Linked DNA regions of Homo sapiens: region 2 is linked to region 1. Evidence: promoter capture Hi-C in human tissues and cell types (Jung and others, 2019). All regions are on one chromosome and are shown on one strand. Each heading gives the region's core, a stretch centred on a gene start or on the middle of the fragment in contact. The rest is flanking DNA. Distances are from core to core; before and after follow the strand shown. Region 1 holds the start of TCEANC (transcription elongation factor A N-terminal and central domain containing). Region 2 has its middle 72 kb from the start of FAM9C.

What was found. The method cuts DNA at HindIII sites, captures the fragments that hold promoters and counts their contacts. A contact is called where the count stands out against the background at its distance.
Region 2: a fragment that was not itself captured here is called in contact with the fragment with the promoter of TCEANC in region 1 in 1 of the 25 tissues and cell types used here (bladder).

Annotation. Positions count from the first base shown.
Region 1 is chrX:13,650,758-13,657,557 of GRCh38, reverse strand. It overlaps TCEANC (transcription elongation factor A N-terminal and central domain containing), which reads right to left and starts at 4,417. Exons shown (of 5, transcript NM_001297563.2): 1 at 4,370-4,417; 2 at 2,185-2,269. It overlaps LOC107985657 (a long non-coding RNA gene), which reads left to right and starts at 4,119. Exons shown (of 1, transcript NR_171573.1): 1 at 4,119-5,061. RefSeq lists enhancers at 4,195-4,284, 4,545-4,734 and a silencer at 4,305-4,616. The HindIII fragment of the contact is 15,832 bases long and covers 1-6,800 here.
Region 2 is chrX:13,113,404-13,120,203 of GRCh38, reverse strand. No RefSeq gene overlaps it. Among named protein-coding and RNA genes, the nearest start is that of FAM9C, 72 kb to the right of the region's middle. The HindIII fragment of the contact is 4,425 bases long and covers 795-5,219 here.

The sequences.
Region 1 (6,800 bases), core at 3,168-5,667:
GGGATTACAGGCATGTGCCACCACACCCGGCCTGTGTACAAGTTTTTGCATGGACATATGTTTTCATTTATCTTGAATCTGCTGGATTATATAACTGTTTAATCTTTCATATAGTTTTGCATCTTGATTTTTTTTCACTTAGCTTTAGGACTATTTTTCCACATCATTAAATATTCTCTAAAAACACGATTTTTAAATGGTTATGTTATTGGATCATCCTAGGAGTTTGCGATAGTTTTTAATCATTCTCCTATTTGGGGCCTTCCAGTTTCTCCTAAGTTTGAAGAAAATGCGTACATATGCGGTCTCCACATCTCTCGTTTCCTTAAAGTGAATTCACAGAAGTAGAATTACTAAAAGGTAAATATGTTTTATGTCACTTGTCATATGGTGTCTGGGAAGATTGTGTGAATTCTCTCTCTAAACACTTCAGTGTTCTTAGCCTGTGTATGTTCGGTGGTGATTATTTAATATCAAGTGCTATAAAACAGAGCCCATGGATTTTTGAAAAGACACAGTCCCTGCCATCAAGATGCTTATGTCCAGCACTCTTTTCATCCTCCCAAACTGAAAACTCTGCACCCATTAAACAACTCCTCATTCTTCCCTCCCTCCAGCCCCTGGCAATCACCACTCGACTTTCTGTCTCTATGGATGAGACTACTCTAGGTACTTCATGTGAGTGGAATCATACAGTATTTCTCTTTTTGTGACTGGCTTATTTCACTTAGCATAATGTCCTCAAGGTTCATCCATGTTGTAGCATGTGTCAGAACTTTCTTCCTTTTTAAGAATGAATAATATTCCATTGTCTATACATAACACATTTTGTTTATCCATTCAAATGTCAACGGATACTTGAGTTGCTTCTGGCTTTTGGCCATTGTGAATAACACTGCTGTGAGCACTGGTATACCAATCTCTCTTTGAGACCCTGCTTTCAATTCTTCAGAGTATATACTCAAAAATGGAATTGCTGGATCATATGGTAATTCTATTTTTAATTTTTTGAGGACCCACTGTATTGTTTTCCATTCCCTTCCACATTTTTAACAGGATTTAAATCCAGTCAAACTTTCTAGTCCTCTGTGGGACCATCATGTGGATATAAAGGATTTATTGCCCTAGGAGGGTATAATGTGGAAGCCATTGAAATACAAAATTCTGACAATTGCCATAAAAAGACAAGGTAAGGCATATGTCCAGCTTAGTTCTACATAGTTCATTCAATAAATATATATTAGGGATTGAGTATGTGCTAGATGCTGAGCCTAAAGAGACAGTCTCTGCCTTGAAGGAGCTGATAGCCTAGTGGGAGTAATACTGACAAGAAACTGGCCAGTTACAACACATGTGGAATTTCAACATGGACAGACACTGGCTGCTAGGGGAAACACACGCAGGATGGCACCAAACCCTATCTGGGCTCGCCATCATCTGGACAGCTACAATTTGCTTCTTTACTGCCTTCACTGTACTTCTGGCACTCACAAGGCCCAACTGTGAGTCTGGCACTTTGTTAGAGGGATCATCCTCTAGTACAGATCTCAGAAAGATACTCCCTCATTTTCCTGCTGAAAGCCCTTGAGAGGTTTCCCCTTGCTTTCATGATGGAGCCAAAGCTCCTTGGCCAGTGGCAAAAAGAGCCCTAGCAGGCCTCCCTCTTGACTACTCGCAACCACTGATGGGCACGGCTCTGTGCCTTTGCTCAAGCAGCATCCCGAGCCTGGCTGATCTCTCACCATTAGTGGTTCTCAAGCCTGGCTGCACATTAGAATCCTCTGGGGAAATTAAACAACAAAAAACAAAAACAAACAATGGCAGGGCCTCACTCCAGATAGGATGAATTAGGATCTCTGAGGGTAGGGCCTGCATATTGGCTCAGCTCTCCAGGGTGACTCTGATTTAAACCACACACAGGCATACAACCCTCTTCCACACCCCAGCAGGACCTGCCAGTTAGGCTGCCATCAGCCCCAAAGACAGCTCTGGTTCTGCTCCTGGACCGAATGCAGACAACTCTATGACTGGCTTTTCTAGATGAGTCCCATTCAGTCAGAAAAGATTTAAAACACCTACTGTGTACAATGCAGCTGACAACCTTCTCTACAAATTACAAATGACAACTGTAATATTTTAAGTGTCATAATGTACACAATTCCTGATATTCACCCTCTCACTTACCTCTTCACAGTGGAAGGCAACATATATTTATTGAGCAACTCTCCAGGCCACACACACTCCAGTCATCTCAATCCTCACAATACTCCTGCAATACAGATAATGGCTTATTTTCATCTTACAGGTGAGGAAACCTGCTAAAAACAGTAAATAATTTGCAAGTTTTTTTCATGGTGTTAATCACATTTAAAAAACGTTTTTACTGCCTTCCCCACAAGACCATAAGAGAAGATCCACATGTTTTATTCACCTATACACACCTAGCAAACACCCAGTCAGTGCTTACTATTACTTAACACATTTTTGTTGTTGTTAAATGAGTAATGAGCATCCAGGATGCTCTCTCTCTTCTCTGCTTGGGAGCTTCATTTCTTTTCACTACACACCAGCTTGCTTGTACTCATTGCACCTAAGCCCAGTGCCCCTTGGCTTCTTTCGTAGGAGACCAAGCCCATCTCGATTCTAGTTCAAAAAAATCATTCAAAAATTCTAGTTCAAATAAATCTTGTTAAAAAAAACAAAACAAACAAACAAACAAACAAAAAAACCATGGTGCCCACTGTGGGCTAATGAAGTGGGTTTGAGGGGTCAAAACATTTGCATAAGGAAGGTCAAGCAGGTCCAGTTCCCAGAAGTGAGGGGTGCTGAGCAAGTTGGATAAGTTTCTTGACCATTCTGTGCCTCAATTTCCTCATCTACAAAATGGGAGAAATCCAACATCCTAGGATTAATGAGAATTAAATGAAAGTCTTGATAAAGTGCTTTGAACTATGGCTGTCACACAGTAAGTGTGAATAATAGGATGTGAATCTACAATTAAAAGGCTTAAAAATATCTACCAAACCAGGCATTGTTCTACAGCAGGGGGTCAGCACACTTTTTCTGTTAAAGATCAGAAGGTATATATTCTAGGCTTTGTAGGCCATACAATCTCTATGGACTACTCAACTCTGCTGCTATTGTAGCAGCAACAGCAGATACAGAAAATAACATAAATGGATAGGCATGATCTTGCTCTGGTAACACTTGTTTACAAAAACAGGCAGGCTGGATTTGGCTGCAGGCCATAGTTTGTTGACCCTTTTCTAGAGCAGGGCTGTGCAACATATATATAACATGTAAACCACAAATATGATTTAAAATTTTCCAGTAGTCATGTTAAAAAATAAAAATTGGTGAAATTAATTATACATTTTATTTAACCCAGTGTATCCAGAATAGTCATTTCAACATGTGATTAATATAAACAAATTGAGATATTTTACATTCTTTTTCATGCTAATTCTCGAAAATTCACTGTGTCTTACACTTACAGCACATCTCAATTCGGACTAGCCACATTTCAAGTGATCAAGCCTTATGTAACTAATGGCTATCATTATTGGGACGCCACGGTTCTAGAACTGATGCTAATATGGATAATGCTTGCTTAGGTGCATACCTATACCAAAAAGTGTATACAGTGCCAGGAAAAGTAGGCACGAAATATGGTATTGGATCCATATAAAAACTTATAAAGATTAGCTAATATTATAGTAAGCAAGGTGCACACATCTGCACAAAAATGGCCTAAACCCTGAGAAGAACGAGAGGAAAGGTCTGGAAACAATGTTTCCAGAAGTTTGTAACAAGTCAAAAATAACCTAGATCTGTTCAGATCTTTAGATCTCTTTAAAGCCTAAAGAGAAACTGTAACTTTCTAGCCCTAACCCACTTAACAGCTCCCCAGCTTCACAGGGAGCCCCGCCCTCTATGGAGAGAAACGATGCCAAATGTTGGCAGCGGTGTAGCGGTTACTGAACAGCCACTCAGCACTGCACTAGGACCATTTCCCTTAATGGTGACCCCTAGTAAAGGTGCAGCGAGAGGAAGGGACCAGCCCAACTGCCCGGTCTAGCCCGGGTTCGAGTTCCGGTGGGTGGGGTCGAGCAACATGCAAAGCCTGCCGCTAATCATCTTGGGATGACGGCCCGGCACCCAGCACACAAACAGCGACAGTCCCGAGGGTTCAGCCCACTCTGGCGACCTCGACAGTCGGAGAGGAAGGGGCGGGGGTGCGAGCACCTTCGGATCTACGCCGCCCAGGGCGCACCGGAAAGCTGCCGCGAGCCGGGGTGGGCTTCCGCTGGGAATAAGGGCTCGCCTTTTTGCGGGACACAGGCCCTGGCAAACCTGAAGCATGACTCACCGAAAAGCGCAGGCGCAGTTCCGGAGCCTTCAGCCGCCCAGTGCCCACGGAGAACTTCCGATCACCGGGACTGGGACAACGTCAAGGCTCAGCCAATCCAAGCCCACAGGCCGGCGCACGTGGTCCTGGGACCCAGTGCATGCGCGCTAGGGAAATGGCTGCCGTGGGACTGCGCTCGCGCGGCTTCCTAGAGGAGGAGCCATGGCCCCGCCCCGGGCCCGAGAGAAAGAAACTGCACTTTCGTTTTTTAGCAGCAAAGTTTGTTGATGTACTTTACAACTTATCTTTTCTGCTTCTACTCAGGACAGTCAAGACAGTGCTCAGCTAGATGTTCACATAACTGTAGACATAAATGTGAATCTATTTAACGCAGTAATTAATTCAAAAAGTGTTTTTAGCATCCTAGCATGCATCAGTTGATATGAAAGTAGTAAATGTTAATTGAGTGGTCTTGTGCATCCTGGACTTCTCATCTGTGCATATTCTCATTCTTTGCCTGCAAAGGGCCAGTAAAAGCACAGTGATGGTTGAACGAATGTGACAGCCTCCTTTGCTGATGCCTTACCCCAAGGTAATTTGGGGAAAGGTTCAGGGAAACAGAGTATCCAATCCAATACTCTGGACTGGGTGCTGGCAGGAAGGAGGGCGATTGTATGATTAAGTATCATAATAAATCTTACCTAAAAGGAGGGGAGACAAGACCAGTGACTCATTAACTGGGATAGGGGATGTTTGGTCATTTTTGTGGTTTGGACAATGTTTACGTTTTTTCAGCATTCCCACGTGATTACGAAGGAGTCTTGTTTTTGTCTTGATCCATCTGGTCAAAGAGTGGCCACGTCTGATGGTGTTCTGTGAAGTATTTATGTTCCACGCAGCACCAAGGCCCAGCTGTGACTGCCGGGGCAGCTCAGAGCTGTCAGGGGTTACTTTTTTCTTGCTGTCTATTATAGGGCTAAAATGTTTAAGGATTATATAATACCTTTTTAAAGAAAAAATTATTTGGCTGGGCGTGGTGGCTCATGCCTGTAATCCCAGCACTTTGGGAGGTCGAGGCAGGCGGATCATGAGGTCAGGAGATCGAGACCATCCTGGCTAACACGGTGAAACCCCGTCTCTACTAAAAATACAAAAAATTAGCCAGGCGTGGTGGCACGTGCTTGTAATCCCAGCTACTTGGGAGGCTGAGGCAGGAGAATCGCTTGAACCCGGGAGGCGGAGGTTGCAGTGAGCTGAGATCGAGCCATTGCACTCCAGCCTAGCGACAGAGCAAGACTTGGTCTCAAAAAAAAAAAATTATTTAATGACACTTGTCACTTGTTAAAGCATGGTAAGGAAGACTTTATTCAGGACCATTGAGATAGACATAGGTACCACTGCAACAGGGTCTTGCAGTGGGGAAGAGAGATTGGGCTCAACTTCAATTGTAGCATGGAAAAGTGAGAATTTATAGCCAAGGAGCAAGGTAGGGGGGTCAGTGGATGGAAAATTATTAAGAGGAAACATCAGGGGTAAGGGGGATTCTGTCTAAACCAACCTGACAAGATTCTTGCTGAAGACGGGCCAGGGTGATCAGATGTCACCTGGAGGTTGGTGGAGGATGAGGAACCAAATCAGATATTAAGGGTGATCAGATATTGAGGGTGGTTGCTTTTGGCTAAACTGATTTATCAAGGCTTTTTGCTAAAACTGGATTTTACAAGGAAGTGCACAGATAGGCCTAGTCAGGAGACTGACTAAAGTTTGGTTGGAAAAGAATGCTTGATAATCTTTACTTTTGCCTGTTAAAATAAAAAAAAATTGACGTAATTTAAATTTGGCAGAGTTTATGTGAGCAAAGAATGATTCATGAATCGGACAGCACTCAGAATCAGAATAGGTTCAGAGAGCTTTGTGGGCCGTGAGTATTTATAGACAGAGAATGGAAGTAAAATACAGAAATAGGCTGATTGGTTGCAATCAATGATCAGATCATTTGGATATGATCTGAGAAGTTGGCAGCTTGTGATTGGCTGAAGCTTGTCTGCTTGTGTTTGGCTGAGACTTGGCTGTTTATTATACTCTTCCTTAGGTTAAGCTTTCAGTGTATTTATGTACTAAGTTAAATTGCAATTCATTGTGTAGAAAATCAAAGTACAGAGACAGCCTTGAGCCAATAGCCTCCTGCTTATTTAATTTAACATGCTTTAATGGTATTTCTCTTCTCATTGTTACTTTTTTGGTTCATTTTATGAGTACTCTTGCCCCACTTTGTAAACACTGATTTAAAAATCCGAAGGACTATTGGCTCCTAGACCAACCATCTCTAGTTTTAGACAGTTACCTAGGAAAAATACTTTCTTTGTGATCAGATTTGTAACATGCAATTCTTAAAATATCTGATATTTGTCAAAACAATGGCACTCAAACTATGAAAGGCTCAATCTGAAGG
Region 2 (6,800 bases), core at 1,758-4,257, 540 kb after region 1:
AAGAGCCTGCAGAGCAGAGGAAAGGGCAGCCTGGGTTTGTTTTGTTTGCCGTTGTTTTATTTGGCTGCTAACTCCTAGAAATCTTTTTCGCTCTGGCTGGCCTTAGCGCCTGCCTTCTGTCTTGTCTCTAAGACTTTCCTCTTTTCATCCTTAAGGAGTCCAGTGGAAACTTTTGGAAAACCCAAGTTCAAGCTGAACCAGAATTGTGAATTTTTCAATGCAGAAGATCTCCATGGAGGGTAGAAAGACTCAGCAAACCGCGTTCAAAAGCAAATGATCTTTTAAACTTGTTCGATCCTAGATTAGGACACAGAGTATTCAGATTGCAGAAAGTGGCAGGGTGATGTGAAAGCTCTGATTTATCTGGGACCATTAAAAGCTTTAAGGGAGCAAAATAGAGCATCAAGGTAAAGAGCTAAATGGTAACAACAAGAGAAGCTTCTCCATTCCTTCCAATCAGTTTTATAAATCAAATGGATGAAAAGATTACTAAATCCTCTGGAGCTAAATGTTCTCCATTATTCTATTTGTTTTTCAGCCTCCAAAGGGGAGACGTTAAGCCAAAGGGTTTTAGAGTCTAAGCTGCAGATGGAATGTGAACAGGCATGTGACTAACCCGCCTGTCATCACAATGACCTGCTTTGGTTGTTGTTATTGTCGTAAACATGACATCCTCTTCAGCAGAAGTTTACATTTTTAGAGGGAAGTTTTGGGGTTCCAAGTTTTCTCTGAATCCTCATTTTTTACAGAAATAGAGGAGAGGTAATTTGCCACATGGGTCCCCCCAAAACCAAGGTGATCTTTCAAACCTTTATTCCCAAAGTTCAATTTCAAAGCCAGAACGGTGCAGGAGCATATACCTTTGAGGAAAGCGGGAGTTTGTTCTAATCAAATTGAATTTGTCATTTTTGTGAAACCTTGGGTTTCCCTTGTTTTAGTTACTTTTTTGAGCGTTGAAATGGAGGGGTTTGGTGATAAGGCTGGGAGAGAGAAAGAGTCATCATCCATTCATCACATTGCCCCCACTGCTGAGAGTTTTGGTCAATGTTGTTCATTTTTAGTTTGTACATACAAAGTGGCTCATGCAAATAGATTGCTGATGGAAAATAGCATCTTCTTCATGGGCAAAGGAGGCATCAAAACCATAAGCTTGAGAGTCTTTCTGCTTTTTCCTGGAATTAGTTCTGGATCCCTCAGAGAAAACAGTGGGCTACAAGGACCTACCTGTCCACTGCATATAATATATCCAGAAAACAGTTCCACAAAACAGGAATTGGTTCAGAATTTTGCATTGTGTACACTCAGATTGATGTTCTGTCTCCTTTTAATATAGGGAAAGTTTGTTCCCAACTATGAGTAAAAGTTTTTAAAATGAGATCCTTCTACTATTAGAGGGTTTTTTTTTTATATACTTTAAGTTCTAGGGTACATGTATACAACGTGCCGGTCTTTTAAAGTTCTTAGATTTTCTGGAAGTGAGGCAACATGAAGACCCACCAGATAAACATGTTTGGCATCCTATACAGAGCTGCCAATGAACTGCTCTCCTTAGCGTGGAAAAGAAGGTTGAGACTGAAGAATAATCTGAATTCTCCATGCACTCCAGCTTTCCAGGCCCAGGCTTTCCTTTCACGTTTAGATAAAACAGCTTAGGGCTCAATCACACAGGCTCTAGGAAGCCTTGCACTCATCCTAAAATTTATGAGAATTCCCAGTGGATTACTTTCCACTTTCCAGAGGTTGCCTGCCTCTTCTTGCTCCCAACTCCACCCTAGGCTCAGGTACTGTGGGTCTCCTTCCTCCTAGGTCATATCTAGGTTTCTGAACACCTCTGGAATGACCAGCTACCATTCAATTCACACAGACAGCTTTATCCTGGCTCCTCATTTTCTAAGTCCACAGAGTTCCTAAATTCTTAACTTTAGGAAGAGGGGGGAGAGGGTGACTCAAGGGTGTCTTTTATCACAGGTTGTTGCGGGAACTCAGGGACCCTGAACGGAGGGACCAGCTGAAGCCACGGCAGAAGAACATAAATTGTGAAGATTTCATGGACATTTATCACTTCCCCAATCAATATTCTTGTGATTTCCTATGCCTGTCTTTACTTTAATCTCTTAATCCCATCATCTTCATAAGCTGAGGATGTATGTCACCTCATGACCCTGTGATGATTGCATTAACTGCACAAATTGTTTAAACAATATGAAATCTGGGCACCTTGAAAAAAGAACAGGATAACAGCGATGTTCAGGGAACAAGGGAGATAACCATTAGGTCTGGCTGCCTGAGAGCCAGGCAGAACAGAGCCATATTTCTCTCCTTTCAAAAACAAATAGGAGAAATATCACTGAATTCTTTTTCTTAGGGGGAGGTCTCTGAAATGGCCGCTCTGGGAACGTCTGTCTTTTACAGTTGCTGATAAGAGTTGAAATAAGCCCCGGTCTCCCGTAGCACTCCCAGGCTTATTAGGATGAGGAAATTCCCACCTAATAAATTTTGGTCAGACCAGTTGTCTGCTCTCAAACCCTGTCTCCTGATAAGATGTTATCAATGACAATGCGTGCCCGAAACTTCATTAGCAATTTTAATTTTGCCCCAGTCCTGTGATCTCGCCCTGCCTCCATTTGCCTTGTAATATTTTGTTACCTTATGAAGCATGTGATCTCTGTGACCCACACCCTATTTGTACACTCTCTTCCTTTTTGAAAATCACTAATAAAAACTTGCTGGTTTTGCAGCTCATTGGGCATCATGGAACCTGCCGACATGTGATGTCTCCCCCGGACAACCAGCTTTAAAATTTCTCTCTTTTGTACTCTTTCCCTTTATTTCTCGGACTGGCCGAGAAATACTTAGGGAAAATAGAAAAGGACCCACGTTGAATTATCGGGGGTGGGTTCCCCCGATAACAGGTGAGTTACATCCTTTTGTTTCACCCCCTCCCTTTCAGATTATGCACGGGGCCCCAACTCCTCAATGAGGGAGGGATCTATCTGGGGCTGTACCTTTAGCCACACAATGTTCTGGGGCAAATTTTGAACTCATAGGTTTTCTTTAAAGGCTTTATTTGCTTCCTGATCCTGAACACATCCTTGGAAAAAGGAAAGGCCACAAAAAATATATACTCCTACCGCCTTTCAGATGAACTACCAGAAATCAGCAATTAGACCCTTAAACAAGGAGATTAAAGGTTTTCACAGTAACAGGTCAAACTGAATAGAATATGTTTCCTAAGGATGGGGATCTCAGCCTCATTTGTTTAAGTTTGTATCTTCAGCACCTTGAACATGACTGGCGTATAGTTGTGCTCAAACAATATCTGTTGAGTGACTAACTGAATGAAGGAATAAATGACCAATGAATATATTTAAGATTCATTTGTTTGGTAAGAACTGATTGTGCTACTAATATGTGGCAGGAACTGAGATAAGCAATGTGGACCTTAGACAAATGGAACAGTATGTTCACTTGCCCCTGACGAGCTTCTAATTGAGTAGGGAAGACAAGACACATACACAAATTGCTTTAGTCAAAGGGAGACCTTGGAGATCACATGATATAAGCCTAGACAAGAAATAATGGTAGAGCACAGCAGAGCAGATGGGGAAGAGGGCTCTTAAGTCAGATCGGAAATCTGTGGAGTATGACCGGGCGTGGAATTCACACCTATAATCCCAGCACTTTGGGAGGCTGAGGTCAGTGGATCACTTGAGTCCAGGAGCTTGAGACCAGCCTGGGCAACATGGTGAAACCCTGTATCTACAAAAAATAAAAAAAAATTTAGCCAGGCATAGTGATGTGTGCCTGTAGTCCCAGTTACTAGGGAGGCTGACGTGGGAGGATTGCTTGAGCCCATGAGGTCGAGGCTGTAGTTAGCTGTGATAGTGCCACTGCACTCCAGCTTGGGGAACAGAGAGACCCTGTCTCAAAAAAAAAAAAAAAAAAAAAAAAAAAAAAGAAGAAGAAGAGGGAAAAAAAAGAAATATATGAAGTAATTGGAATTCCTCTTGCTAGATAGGGATTTTCTTTAGGTTATAAACAAAAAATAACAATCCCTTTGAAGCCATATTTTCCGAAGTCATTATCGTTTGTATAAATGGTATACCCTTTGATGGATTCTTCAACAGATATTAATATTTTAACTATTGTTTTCCACATTGGTGCTTCAAAAATAAGCTATTCTTTTGCCCACTAAATACCATTTCCCAAAGCAAAAGCAAACAGACAAATTCATAACAAGGTGAAAATGTCTGTAGCAAATCTAGTCTTCCATCCAAAGAGAAGTGGCAGCTTTTATGAAATCATAACCTTCTCCCTTTTCTTGAAGAAAGGAAATTGCTCTGGGTCAGCAGGTGAAGAAATGGATACTCTCCCTTCTTAACTTACAGAGTTAACCAGCAATGTACAATTCAAAAAAGGGAGGCACTGACTGCTGACAATGGTCAATATAAGCCTGTGTAGTCCCGTAGGCCTCTGGGAATAATTAGCTCAACAGTGGACTGTGAAACACACACTGCTTCCTTCCTGGTGAGTTCTGCTCTGAGCTCCAATTGCAGCCCAGTTGTCACCTATGGAGGAGGACTGGGGACATGTTATCAGGAAACTACCAGTAAGTAAAGAGGCAGAACTCTTAGGAGCAGGGTGTGATGTAAGGACTTTTTGGCAGGTGACCCTGTCCCTGCTATTTCTACCTCAAGTCTTTTTCTGTTGTCGTTTTTAACTGAGCCCATGAGCTGTAAAGGGTAATCAGGGATATGGACAGATGTTATAGAAGCTTGTAAGAAACTCTTTATCTTTTTTTCCCTCATTTGGTAATACTTTTGGGCTTGTCTGAGAGGCAGCTGAGTTTTCTCTCAATCAGATTGTCAAAGCCAAAATAAAGTATAGAGATGAATCTCTAAATTTAACATTTTATTTTGGGAAGCAGGGATTGCAGTTTGGGGCATACACACAGACTGGGTGGTCTTCGGTATGTCTGAAGAACAAAGAGAAGGTTGTGAGTTTTATTAGAAAAAGAGATGCTAATGTTACATTATCATTTTGAAAGAAAGCTTATTGGCACTAGAGAAGCTTTTGGGAGCTGGCAAGCTCTGATTGGTGAGTGGATGTCTGGGTGTTTGTCTCCTCCAAATCTTGTGTTGAATTGTGATCCCCAATGTTAGAGGTGGGGTCTGGTGGGAGGTATTTGGGTCATAGGGGGCAGATCCCTCATAAATGGCTTGGTGTCATCCCCTTGGTGATGAGCAAGTTTTCACTCAGTTAGTTCCAGCAACATCTGGTTGTTAGAGAGACTATGCCCTCCTTCTCTCTCTCTCTCTTGCCATGTGACATGTCTGTTCCCTCTTTGTCTTCTGCCATGAGTAAAAGCTTCCTGAGGCCTCACCAGAAGCCAAGCAGATGCTGGTGCCATGCTTGTACAGCCTGCAAAACCATGAGCCCAATAAACTTTTCTTTATAAATTACTCGGCCTCAGGTATTCCTTTTTAGCAACACGAAATGGACGAATACAGTGAGTGACTGTGGTAGGTAAAACCAGGCTTGGAGTCACAGCAGGTTGCTTCAGCAGCTGCTAGGTAAAACTGCTCTTCAGGTTTCAGCTGGCTGTTTCAGCAGCTGGGCTTGTAGAAAATTCAATTCTTGGAGCAGGGGCTATGTTCCCCAAGTTCTTTTTCCCCCTGGCCCTTGATGCTGATTTAGTTGGGCATGACAAGAATGACCCAATTTGTATAATCAGCTTTCACAAGATATCGCCTCTTACACGTGGCTGCAAACTGGCCATGTGGAGCACTTGCCCAGCCAGTTCTCACCATGTCATATGGATATTTTTCTAAATAGATTTTATTTTATTTTTGAGATGGAGTCTTACTCTGTTGCCCAGGCCAGAGTGCAGTGGCACAATCTTGGCTCACTGCAACTTCTGCCTCCTGAGTTCAAGCAATTCTCCTGCCTCAGTCTCTTGAGTGGCTGGGATTACAGGCGCCCATGACCAGGCCCAACTGATTTTTGTATTTTCAGTAGAGATGGGGTTTCACTATGTTGGCCAGGCTGGTTTCGAACTCCTGACCTCAGGTGACCTGCCCACCTTGGCCTCTCAAAGTGCTGGGATTACAGGCGTGACTCAACCACATCTGGCCCTTAATTCCTTGTTCTATGATTATAGCAGCATAGGTCTATTATAAACATTTTAGAAAACACAGGCAAGCATAAAGGAAAAAATATAAATCAGCTACAAATTAAAAGCCCAGTATAAACTCTGCTAACATTTAGTGTCCTTTCTTCCAATCTCATTCCCCAGTGTGTGTGTTTTTTGTTTTGTTTTGTTTTTAGTAAATACAGGTGTCTTGCTATGTTGCCCAGGCTGCCACAGTGGTCTTGAATTCCTGGGCTTAAGCAATTTACCTCAGCCTCCCAAAGTGCTGGGATTACAGGCGGGAGTCACCACACCTGGCCTATGTGTGTTTTTTAAACAATTGAGACCATTTTGTATATGTTGCTTCTTATCCTTTTCTTTCCTCATTTGGTAATACTATATTGCTGTTTAAGAACTGTTTGAGGAGTCTGATGACATATGTAGAAAGGGAATAGGAGATTAACCACGAGGACAAGCTGGTATTGGTGACTGGAAGTCAGGAGTGACCATTGCCTGGCATCTCAGAGCCCCCAGGAGTGCCCACACCTCAGGGCACACAAATGAATGGATTTATATCAGAGAAGTTTCAGCCACACTCACCAACCAACCCCCAGGTCCTCTTTCACTGGCATCCTAATCCAGGTTGCTTCATAGAAGTCAGCTCACAGCC